Regions from separate parts of the Homo sapiens genome. Here region 1 is linked to region 2. The links are contacts of gene promoters, found by promoter capture Hi-C in human tissues and cell types (Jung and others, 2019). All regions are on one chromosome and are shown on one strand. The core of a region is centred on a gene start or on the middle of the fragment in contact, and the rest is flanking DNA. Distances in the headings are between cores, read along the strand shown.

Region 1 (5,800 bases), core at 971-3,470, 100 kb after region 2:
TATCACCTTTATTTTGCAGAAAACCTAAGCAGCTTGTTCACGTTGGCATGGTTAAAGTAGTAGAGCTAGGATTTTAAATCCTGGTCTCTTTATTTATTATTTTATTAAAAAATTTTTTAAAAATAAAATATTATTATGAATAATTTTAGAGATGGGGTCTTGCCATATTGCCCAGATTGGTCTCAAACTCCTGAGCTCAAGTGATCCGCCTGCCTTGGCCTCCCAAAGTGCTGGGATTACAAGTGTGAGCCACTGCGCCAGGCCTTAAACCCTGGTCTCTTGACTACAAATCCTGACTTCGCTTCATCTTGTCACTCAGATGCTTTAGCATCTATTTTGTTATTAGGTCTGAGATAAAATGACTTTCCCTGAAAGTGTTAACTGCCCTTGAGAATCACGACAAGGCTCACAGACTATCAACAGATAGTGTAGACCTCCATAGTGCTAATCTCTTTTCTTTTCTTTTCTTTTTTTTTGAGGCGGAGTCTCACTCTGTCGCCCAGGCTGGAGTACAAAGGTTCGACCTTGGCTCACAGCAAGCTCCGCCTCCCAGGTTCAAGTGATTGATTTTCCCACCTCAGCCTCCCCAGTAGCTGGGATTACAGGCCCCCATGACCATGCCCGGCTAATTTTTGCATTTTTAGTAGAGACAGAGTTTCACCATGTTGACCAGGTTGGTCCTGAACTTCTGACCTCAAGTGACCTGCCTGCCTTGGCCTCCCAAAGTGTTGGGATTACAGGCGTGAGCCACCGTGCCCGGCCATAGCACTAATCTCTGAAATTCCACTTATGTGCTTAGTTAGGTAGAATAACTGGATAGACAGGCTGCATAGTTACTTCAAAGGGTGGAGTCCAGAAATGCCTGGAGAAATTCCAGGGACAAACACACAGACTCCAAACAAAAACCAGCCCCCTACACAGTCTGTAATCTTTCCAAGGGCATATATATGGCAATGTGTGAGGGGAATGGTTTTTGCAGAAGTTCAGGATGGACGGCAGTTAGGAGCAGGGAGAGGCTGAGGGTGGAAAGGTGGAGGTGGTTTAGGGGAGGTGCATTTTGGAGGAATGGATGAATAGAGAGAGTAATGGGGACAGAGCTTCCCACCTGGACAAAAAAATAGGATGAGGAATAACAATGGATACCGAAAATTCAGGATCTAGTTGGAGATTTTCATGCCATTTCCAGGTTCAAGGGGTAGTCTGGAAGATGTGGCTTGAACATCTAAATGTCAATTATCTGTGATAATTTGAGGTGGTAGTGGTGGTAGGATGCAGGGGAGAACCAGATGCACTATTTGAAATTTTGGGACAAATTGGTATGTTTTTGATCATTAGAAAAGCATAGCTTGGGCCAGGTGCAGTGGCTCACACCTGTAATCCCAGCACTTTGGGAGGCCGAGGCGGGTGGATCACCTGAGGTCAGGGGTTCAAAACCAGCCTGGCCAACATGGTGAAACCCTGTCTCTACTAAAAATACAAAATTAGCCAGGCATGGTGGCGCATGCCTGTAGTCCCAGCTACTTGGGAGGCTGAGGCAGGAGAATTGCTTGAACCCGTGAGGCAGAGGTTGCAGTGAGCAGAGATGGCGCCACTGCACTCCAGCGTGGGCAACAAGAGCGAAACTCCGTCTCAAAAAGAAAGAAGAAAAAAAAAAGCAAAGCATAGCCTGGGCCGGGCAAAGTGGCTCACGCCTGTAATCCCAGCATTTTTGGAAGCTGAGGTGGGCGGATCAGTTGAGGCCAGGAGTTTCAGACCAGCCTAGCTAACATGGTGAAACCCCATCTCTACTGAAAGTACAAAAATTAGCTGAGTGTGGTGGTCCGCGACTGTAATCCCAGCTACTCGGGAGGCTGAGGCATGAGAATCACTTGAACCCAGGAGGCGGAGGTTGCAGTGAGCCAAGATGGCGCCACTGCACTCCAGCCCGGGCAACAGAGTGAGACCCTGTCTTGAAAAAAAAAAAAAAAAAAAAAAAAAAAAAAAAAAGAGTGACCTTGTTTTCTCCATATTCCTCATGTAGGAAAAAGCATGACCTTTTATTACCCACAGGTCAACCTTAAGAGCTATTCTAAACTAAAGCAAGGTTCCTGTTATAACTAACTGAAATATGAATGGAGATTGATGTTAGCAGTCTCAGGCAATTCTGGAATTCGGGAAAAGAATTCTAAATTCACGTCTTCTGACGTCACAGCACTTTCCCTGTTCATGGAGGCCCGTTCACTCCTTGTACAGTCAGTTTTCTAAGGGCAGGGCGTGGAGGTGAACTTCCTCCCAGGACTGGGAGCTGGATGAACAGTGAAGAGTAAAGCCACGGGAAGCCCCAGTCACCACACTCACAGTGTAACACAGAGAAAAGACACAAGAAAAGGAGGAAATGGAGATCAAAATGTCACTGCCGCTGTTTGAATCTGTAGCTCAAGCCCCATTCAAGGGGAGCCTCATTTTTGACACAGGCTTGCTGGTTTTTCCAAATCCCTGTTGACTCTTAAGCTGCCTAAGCGGTTTACAAGGATGAGCCTCCATTCACAACAATTTCTATTTAAGGAAAAACCATTGGGGATGGGCGCGGTGGCTCATGCCTGTAATTGCAGCACCCTGGGAGGGTGAGGTGGGCAGACTGCCTGAGCCCAGCAGTTCAAGACCAGCCTGGGCAACATAGTGAAACCCTCCCGCTTCTACAAAAAGTACAAAAATGGCCAGGCGTGATGGCTCAAGCCTGTAATCCCTGCACTTTGGGAGGCCAAGGCAGGCGGATCACAAGGTCAGGAGTTTGAGACCAGCCTGACCAACATGGTGAAACCCTGTCTCTACTAAAAATCCAAAAGAAAAATTAGCCAGGTGTGGTGGTGTATGCCTGTAATCTCAGCTACTTGGGAGGCTGAGGCAGGAGAATTGCTTGAACCCGGGAGGCGGAGGTTGCAGTGAGCCGAGATTGCACCACTGCACTCCAGCCTGGGCGACATAGTGAGACTCCGCCTCAAAAAAAAAAAAAAAAAGTACAAAAATTAGCCTTGTGTGGTGGTGCACACCTGTAGTTCCAGCTACTTGGGAGGTCGAGGTGGGAGGATAGCTTGAGCCTTGTAGGTGGAGGTTGCAGTGAACTATGATGGTGTCACTGCACTCCAGCCTGGGTGACAAAGCAAGACCCTGTCTCAAAACAAAAAAACAAAAAAAAATTATTGGCATGCAGATGCCGTTAGCTAACAGCGGTATCTGAGAGCACATGCCCAGTTTGCTTTTGTTTTCACGTCTTCAGAAAAGCATCCTGTAGGCATAATTTTCTTTTTGTAATAAGCTTTTCATTTGTGAGTGAGAGAGGCTAACCACCCACTTTGTGTTTCAGGCTATGGTTAAGGGCACACAGCTACAGCTCAAAGGCAGCAAGTGGAGAAAATGAGAATGAGGGGGCATGAAGAGGAGGACTGCCCGTCTTTATTTCGGTTGTAGAGTCACAGACACATCAGAAGAAGGCTCTGACGTTCAAACCAGAAGGCAGGCCACCGGAGCTCCTAGAAGCCCACAGGGGCGTAGGAGGCACCATGTGAGAAGGACAGAGGGCAGCGACCTGGCTGCCTCTCAGAGAGAGGTCATGTCGTTGAGAGCGTGGTCCAGTTCCTCGCTGATAGCTTTGTACTTGAGCTTCTGAGCGTATAACTCATCTAGAGGGCGGAGGTCCCCAGGGAGACAGTTCAGAAGTACAGGGGACAGAAGGCAAGGGTCGGAATGGAGTGCCACAGATGAACCACAAGAGGAAGAAAAAAACACGTGAGCAAACAAAGCACAGACTAGGAGAAAGCTGTGTTCCATGTGAAACAGATGAAGAAAACCAAAGATCTATGGAGTTGATCTCTAAGTGGTTTGAGGTTCTGCAGGGGGATTAGCCACAATGAAGCTTCAAAACAGTGGTAACCAGAAGTGACAGAGCTTCCCCCCACTGGTCCCCACCCCTCAGTTTATTTCGGATTTCCAATGACGTCACCCTGTCCAAAGGTCGTATTTTGGAATGGGGCATTTTCCCTTATATGGGAACCTCACTTCCCCAAAAAAACATTGGAAGATATGGTCTGAAGAATGTGTCCTTTCTGGGTGGGATGGGCAGTTTGGAAGATTCCATTTGAACCCCAAGATTCTGGAATTTCTGAGGCCGAATGTTAAACACTGGAACTCTTGAAAAAATTCTGGGAGAAGTGGGCCCCAGACTTGCAGACTAGTCTTTATTGCAGTCCCTACACTTTCTGTATTTCTGTTTTTTTTTTTAAATACTATGATAAGCTTTGAGCTCCCTGGGACAGAGCTTCTGCAAAAATGCAAGGCATGTAAAAAAAAAATGCAAGGCATCTATCAGAAATGAGCAAACAGAAGGAAATTGTGAAGTTTTTTTTTTTTTGAGACGGAGTCTGGCTCTGTCACCCAGGCTGGAGAGCTGTGGCGTGATCTTGGCTTACTGCAACCTCCGCCTCCCAGGTTCAAGGGATTCTCCCTGCCTCAGCCTCCCCAGTAGCTAGGATTACAGGCGTGCACCACCACGCCTGGCTAATTTTTTCTATTTTTGGTAGAGACGGGGTTTCACCATGTTGGCCAGGTTAGTCTCAAACTCCTGATTTCAAGTGATCCGCCCGCCTCGGCCTCCCAAAGTGCTAGGATTACAGGCTTGAGCCACTGCGCCTGGCCTGAGATTTTTAATTTATTATTAATATTTTTTTAATCAGAGAGAGCCATACTCTTTTCTCTATACTTGCTCATGGGACTAACTAAGCAGAGATATTTTACCTCCTGAAAGTGGCAATTCAATTAGCCAGGTGTGGCGGCACACGCCTGTAGTCCCAGCTACCTGGGAGGCTGAGGCAGGAGAATCACTTGAACCCGGGAGGCGCAGGTTGCAGTGAGCCGAGATGGCGCCACTGCACTCCATCCAGCCTGGGAGACAGAGCCAGACTCCGTCTCATAGAAAAAAAAAAAAAAAAAAAAAAGGGCCATTCAAGCCTGAATGCTTTGCATTATCCTATTCCAGTGTTCCAGGACATCCAGATATGACATCACTATGCGCTTTACTTTCCTAAGGCAAACAAAGCCCAACCCAGCCCCTCCACAAACATTCCCCAACTGTCCGTGGATGTGTCCCAGAGGGGAAGGCAGGGCAAGGCAAACATTTAGATGGTAACCTCATACCTTCCAGGTCATCAATTGTCTTTTCCAGTTTTGCAACCGTTCTCTCTGCAAATTCAGCACGGGTCTCAGCCTAGATAAGAAGAAAGGAGTTACTATCATGGCTTCAAGACCAGCCCCAGGAGAAACCAGAGCTCGCTGGGTGCCACCACACTCACCTCTTTCAGTTTGTCAGACAGAAGTTTAATTTCTTCTTCATATTTGTCCTCCTTTTCAGAATACTGTGGGAGAAACCAAAACACTGCTTTAAGAAAAGGAGGCCCAGCCAGGCATGGTGGCTCATGCCTGGAATCCTGGCACTTTGGGAGCCTGAGGCTGGTGGATCACAAGGTCAGGAGTTCGAGACCAGCCTGGCCAACATGGTGAAACCCCGTCTCTACTAAAAATACAAAAATTAGCCAGGCTTGGTGGCATGCAGCTGTAGTCCCAGCTACTGGGGAGGATGAGGCAGAAGACTCACTCGAACCTGGGAGGTGGAGGTTGCAGTGAGCCGAGATCACGCCACTGCACTCCAGCCTGGGTGACAGAGTAAGACTCCATCTCAAAAAAACAAACAACAACAACAACAAAAACAAAAAAAAAACAGAAAGAAAGAAAAGGAGGGCTGGGTGTGGTGGCTCTCACCTGTGATTCC
Region 2 (6,188 bases), core at 380-2,879:
TGCCCGCCTCACCTAGGACCTGACACCCATGTTTGTTTCTCTCACTGATCAATGTTGGGCTTCACATTGTTGGACCGGTTCTTGTTGCTTCCACATGCAACAGGCCAGGCAGCCACCTGCCTTGCACCTGGGATGGACTTAGGAGAAGGCAGAGGACCATTTCTAAAAGGTGGGGACAATCCCTTCTTAAAGTTTTCTCAGATCCTCTGGGGAAGATGCCTGGGTTCTAGTTTATGTCCAGCTCCCTGGTGTCTCTGGTCCATTTGTCACCCCTCCTCAGGGAAACCCTCTCTCATCCTCGGGCTGAGGCTGACTGTCTGTATAACACACTCGCCCCTCAACACCACTGCAATTGACATTTATTTGTGTTTTTGGAGATGGGTATCCATCTCCCCTACCAGCCTGTGAACACCGTAAGAACACAGATTGTTGAGCCCTGGCACATGACTCACACCTGTAATCCCAGCACTTTGGGAGGCTAAGACAGGTGGATCACTCGAGGTCAAGAGTTCGAGACCAGCCTGGTCAACATGGTGAAACCCTGCCTCTACTAAAAATACAAAATTTAGCTCGGCGTAGTGGCAGGTGCCTGTAATCCCAGCTACTTGGGAGGCTGAGGCAGGAAAATTGCTTGAACCCGGGAGGCGGAGGTTGCAGTGAGTGGAGATTGCACCACTACACTCCAGACTGGACGACTGAGCATGACACTATCTCAAAAACAAAACAAAAAAAAAGGGACTGTTTTTTGCTAAACACAAATCGACCCCAGGCTTAGTACCCTGCCCGGCATTAGTAGGTGCTCCCCAGATATCAGCTGAATAAACGAATGATTCTGGATCGGACTCCTAGACTTGCTACTTCTCTGTGACCATTGTGACCTTGGTCAGGTTGCTTCACCTCTCCATGCCTCAGTTTCTCCCTCTATAAAACGGCACTCGTGATCACCACTCACCTCACCTAATCCTTGTAACTCACTATCACAATGAACGTGGAGAAATTCCTACTGAGAGAAAGTGCACGATAAACAGAAGCTGTAACGCCCTGAGAAGGCGGGACTGGCTCGAGAGCACCCAGTCCCCGCCACGCCTCGCCACCCCCGGCCAAGGGTCGCGCAGCCCCTGGACGCCCTGCCTGGCTCCGAGGCCGGCTGCGGCCCCGCTTCTGGGTCCTCCACCGAGGCCCGAGCCCCCGGCCCCGGCGCCGGGGAGCAGAGGGCGGTGCAGTCAGTTACCTGGCAACGCGGTGGCTGCAGCCCACCGCGTTACGTAGCAACAGGGCGGGGATTACCCACTTAAGACCCCCGCCCGGTTACCCAGAAACAGGATGGGGCTCTCAGGTGAGGTCTACCGGCCTCTCTGCCTCACACCAGGATGGGGCTCATAAGCCGGTTACCTAGCAACAGGGTGGGTCCCCGCGGGCGGAGGCCCCTGCCGGTTGCCTGGCAACAGGGAGGGTGGGGAGCCCTCAGTACCTTGCCCTTCAGGTCCAGCACGTAGACGGCGCTGGCGGACATGATGGCTGCAGGAGGCCTCGGCAGCGGCCGAGGGCGGTGGCGGCGGCAGCGACGGTGGGGACTGCTGGGCGTTGAGCAAGGCCGGGCGCCGCCCGCGACAGCTCACCTCCACTTCCGGTTCGGGGAGCCGCGCGGGGACCGTTATGTCCGGTCCGGGAGGTGCTGTCAGGAATGCGCAGGCGCAGGACGGACTGTGCGCAGGCGCATTACGTCGTATGTAACCATGTTTCTTGCTCCCGCCAGAAGCATCCCGGAAGTAAGGCCCGGTGGGGCGGGGCCGACCAAATCAGGGCACCCAGTGGCCGCTGCCAGGCTGAGCTATGGAGCCAGAGCAGCTGGAAACGGCCTCCCGTGGGCCGAGTTAGGCGAGAGAGCCTGGTGGTGAAACCGACCTGGGGCCCAGCCCTATGGAGCTCACAGTCTGGTGGGGAAGTCTATGAAACAAGTGTACAGTCACCAATTGTGATAAGCTCAAAAGAGAGAGGTAAGGTCGTGGTTACTTGGAAAGAGGTCAAACAAACTTTCTGAATGGCAATCAAACCTTATCAACAGTCACCACCTGTCATTGTCAACATTTATCAATGAATGAGTGTGCCTGTTTATTGCCTGGAATGTTATGAAAACCAGCCTCACTGAACCTTGACCCAACATACCGTGTTTCATTTCTGCAAAGTTAGTAATCAGTAATGCAACTGGTGGCCCTTGATTAATCCATTGAGTCATATTTAATTTGCTTTTATGAACTCTTGGGCTTTGGAGAAATGCCTGCATTCTGTTCCAGTTAGCCATCATAGTACCCTGGGGATCCCAACCCTGCAATACCAGAGTGATTTACCCAGGATGCCTGCCTCTCACATCTTTTATTTTCTGTCTTATCTCCGTTTTGGCGTTTGGAAAGATGATTTTTGCAACTCGGTAATTATATAGTGTTTTGCTTAGGAAAGAAATGTGACCGAAACTCTAGAGAAGCAAACTAGAATGTTTGAAGACTGCTAAGTGACTCCTGGGCTGGAAGGATTCTTGCTCAAGGCACAGAGCAAGCAGCCAAGAGAGGGTTTTTGTTGTTTGCTTTTTTTTTTTTTTTTTTTTTTGAGATGGAGTCTCACTCTGTCACCCAGGCTGGAGTGCAATGGCATGATCTCGGCTCACTGCAACCTCTGCCTCCTGGGTTCAAGTGATTCTCTTGTGTGTCAGCCTCTCAAGTGGCTGGGATTACAGGCATGTGCCACCACACCTAGCTAATTTTTGTATTTTTAGTAGAGACGTGGTTTCACCATGTTGGCCAGGCTTGTCTCAAACTCCTGACCTCACGTGATCCACCCACCTCGGCCTCCCAAAGTGCTGGGATTACAAGGGTTAAGTTAAATATTAAAAGATAAGAGAGCCAGTGCCCTTATACAAAGGCTGGGATGTAACAAAAGCCCACCCAGAGTTGTGCCTAGGCCTTTCCTGGGCCTTGAAGCATGACAAGATAATGAAGGAATTCTTAACAGGACCCTTTTAGGATTAAACAAGCTTTATTGGCGGTCTGAAGAAACTCCTCAGGCCTCCACAAACAAGTTTATTGGGGTTTGAAGGAACTCCCCCAAACCTCCATGATTTAGCAGGAGATAAGATAAGGGTAATCACCCCAGCACCTGGACCCACTTAGATTAAGTAAATTTACTGAGGCTCCAGAGGAAGGTCTTCAGGACTCAGATCTTAGTTATGGGTTAAAAGACTATAACTTACTTACGTCTTTAGATGAATGCACACCTACACGTAGACATATAGCTTAGAAGGTATATGAGCTCTGGAAGACTTTGTAATTTTGGGTTGGTCTGGTGATATTTTCCAGGCCTTCTCCCTGTAACCAGTTACAGAAATAAAAACTCTCTTCCTCCCTAGTTCATCTGTGTCTCATTATTGGGCTGTGAGATATAGAAGCCCAACCCTCAGTTTGGTCTGGGAATAGGTTAGGAGTGGGGGTCTCAAAAGCCCCCCCAATACAACACACACAATAAGAACCACTGAGGCCTGAAAGCCATGTATAGAGATTTTGTTTTAATTGGTCTGGGCCAGGGTTTGGTTATTGGGATTTTTCTTTTTTTTAATTTTTTTTTTGAGACAGAGTCTCACTCTGTCACCAGGCTGGCATGCAGTGACACGATCTCGGCTCACTGCAACCTCTGCCTTCCAGGTTCAAGTGATTCTCCTGCCTCAGCCTCCCAAGTAGCTGGAACTATAGGTGCCTGCCACCATGCCCAGCTAATTTTTGTATTTTTAGTAGAGACGGGGTTTCACCATGTTGGCTAGGATGGTCTTGATCTCTTGACCTTGTGATCCGCCCGCCCCACCTCCCAAAGTGCTGGGATTACAGGTGTGAGTCACCGCGCCTGGCCTTCTTTTCCTTTCTTTTTTTTTTTTTTTGAGGCACGGTCTTATCCTGTCACCAGGCTGGAGTGCACTGGTGCAATCTCGGCTCACTGCAACCTTCACCTCCTTGGCTCAGCTGGGACTACAGATGCACACCATCAAGGCCAGCTAATTCTGGTTTTTTGTTTTTTTTTTTGAAACAGGGTCTCGCTCTGTCACCCAGGCCGGAGTGCAGTGGTGCAATCTCAGCAGCTCATTGCAACTTCTGCCTCCTGGGTTCAAGCGATCCTCCAACCTTAGCCTCCTGAGTAGCTGGGACTACAGATGTGTGCCACCAGGCCCAGATCAGTTTTTGTATTTTTAGTAAAGATGGGGTTTCACTATGTTGGCCAGGCTTAATTTTGCGATTTTTGTACAGATGGGGTTTCCCCATGTTGCCCAGGCTGGTCTCAAACACCTCGGCTCAAGTGATCTGCTCGCCTTGGCCTCCCAAAGTGCTGGGATTAAAGGCATGAGCCACTGCGCCCAGCCTGGTTATTGGGATTTTTTTCCAAGCTCCCCAGATGATGCTAATAGGAAACAAAATTTGAGAAACCCTGGTGTATCATAATAGGTATGATCTTTCTTTCTTTTTTTATTTTATCTTTTTGAGACTGAGTCTCAAATAAAAAAAAAAAAAAAGTTGCTTGGTTCTATGGCTCATGCCTGTAATCCCAGCACTTTGGGAGACAGAGACAGGAGGATCACTTGAGCCCAGGAGTTTCAGACTAGCCTGGGGAACATGATGAAACCCCATCTCTACAAAAAATACAAAAATTAGCTGAGTGTGGTGGCACACACTTGTAGTCCCAGCTACTTGGGAGGCTGAAACAGAAGAATCACTTGAACCTGGGAGGTTGACAAGGCTGCAGTGAGCTATAGTGGCATCACTGTACTCCAGCCTGGGCAACAGAGTAAGATCTCTAAAACATTACAATAAATGGGGCAAAATATGAGACTAGGTCCAACAGGGTTTGTTACATATCGCGTCTATTTCTGTTAACTCTTGGTGAACAGACCCTGATGTTCTTCCTGAGCAGTGGGAAGTCACAGCTGTGGCCGGGCTTGGTGGCTGACACCCACAATCCCAACACTTTGGGAGGCCGAGGCAGGAGGATCACTTGAGGTTGAGGCCAGTAGTTTGAGACCTGGGCAACATAGGGAGACCCTATCTCTACAAAGAGATAAATAAATCAGCTGGGTATGGTGATGTACACTTGTGATCCCAGCTACTCAGGAGGTCGAGGTGGGAGGATCACTTCAGCCTGGGAGGTCAAAGCTGCAGTGAGCCGTGATCACACCACTGCACTCCAGCCTGGGCAAGAGAATGAGACCCCATCTCAAAATAATAATAATGGTAATAATAATAGTCCTGACATCTCATCGGATTCCTTCTAGAGCTTAATCACTGGGCAATTAGTATCAAAAGCCTCTCTTGGCTGGGCATGGTGGTTCACGCCTGTAATCGCAGCACTTTGGGAGGCCGAGGCAGGTGGATCACCTGAGGTCAGGAGAGTTTGAGACCAGCCTGGCCAACATACCGAAACCCTGTCTCTACTAGAAATACAAAAATTAGCCGGGCACGGTGGTGCATGCCTGGAATCCCAGCTACTCCAGAGGCTGAGAGGCAGGAGAATTGCTTGAACCCGGGAGGCAGAGTTGCAGTGAGCCGAGATCGCACCAATGCACTCCAGCCTGGGCAATGAGCGAAATGCCATCTCCAAAAAAAAAAAAAAAATTAACCACTTAGTCAGTACTTAAACAGTCATTATGAAGGCCGGAGGCCTGCATTAGTGAGACCTGGCCTGCCACAACACTCCCTACACACAATAAGAATCTCTGTTCTCCAGGCTCGCTTTGAACTCCTGGGCTCAGGCAACCCTCCAGCCTCAGCCTCCTGAGCAGCTGGGATTACATTTGCATACGTCGCACTGTGCCTGGCACCAGAACTTGGCGGTTTTTAATGCTCCCCAGGTGATTCTAATGTAAATTTGAGGACAGCGGTGGTGGACTGTAAGGGTATTGGATCCCAGTAAACCACACCTCCTAGTGTTCATGCCCTTGTGGAGTTCCCTGCCAGACTCCGGGTTTGGCTAGGTGGCTTGTTTTGGCCGCTGAAATAGGCTATGTAGGCCGGGCGTGGTGGCTGATGTCTGTAATCCCAGCACTTTGGGAGGCTGAGGCAGGCGACTCACTTGAGGTCAGGAGTTCGAGAGCAGCCTGGCCAACATGGTAAAACCCTGTCTTTACTAACATACAAAAATTAGCCGGGCGTGGTGGT

Evidence for each region. The method cuts DNA at HindIII sites, captures the fragments that hold promoters and counts their contacts. A contact is called where the count stands out against the background at its distance.
Region 1: a contact is called between a fragment that was not itself captured here and the fragment with the promoter of AP1M1 in region 2, in 3 of the 25 tissues and cell types used here (H1 embryonic stem cells, dorsolateral prefrontal cortex and spleen).

The regions. Positions count from the first base shown.
Region 1 is chr19:16,093,123-16,098,922 of GRCh38, reverse strand. It overlaps TPM4 (tropomyosin 4), which reads right to left. Exons shown (of 8, transcript NM_003290.3): 6 at 5,325-5,387; 7 at 5,170-5,239. Among named protein-coding and RNA genes, the nearest start is that of RAB8A, 16 kb to the left of the region's middle. RefSeq lists a silencer at 1,539-1,736 and an enhancer at 4,071-4,944. The HindIII fragment of the contact is 3,724 bases long and covers 359-4,082 here.
Region 2 is chr19:16,193,352-16,199,539 of GRCh38, reverse strand. It overlaps AP1M1 (adaptor related protein complex 1 subunit mu 1), which reads right to left and starts at 1,629. Exons shown (of 12, transcript NM_032493.4): 1 at 1,472-1,629. The coding sequence starts at 1,513. RefSeq lists a silencer at 1,246-1,485. The HindIII fragment of the contact is 7,648 bases long and covers 1-5,585 here.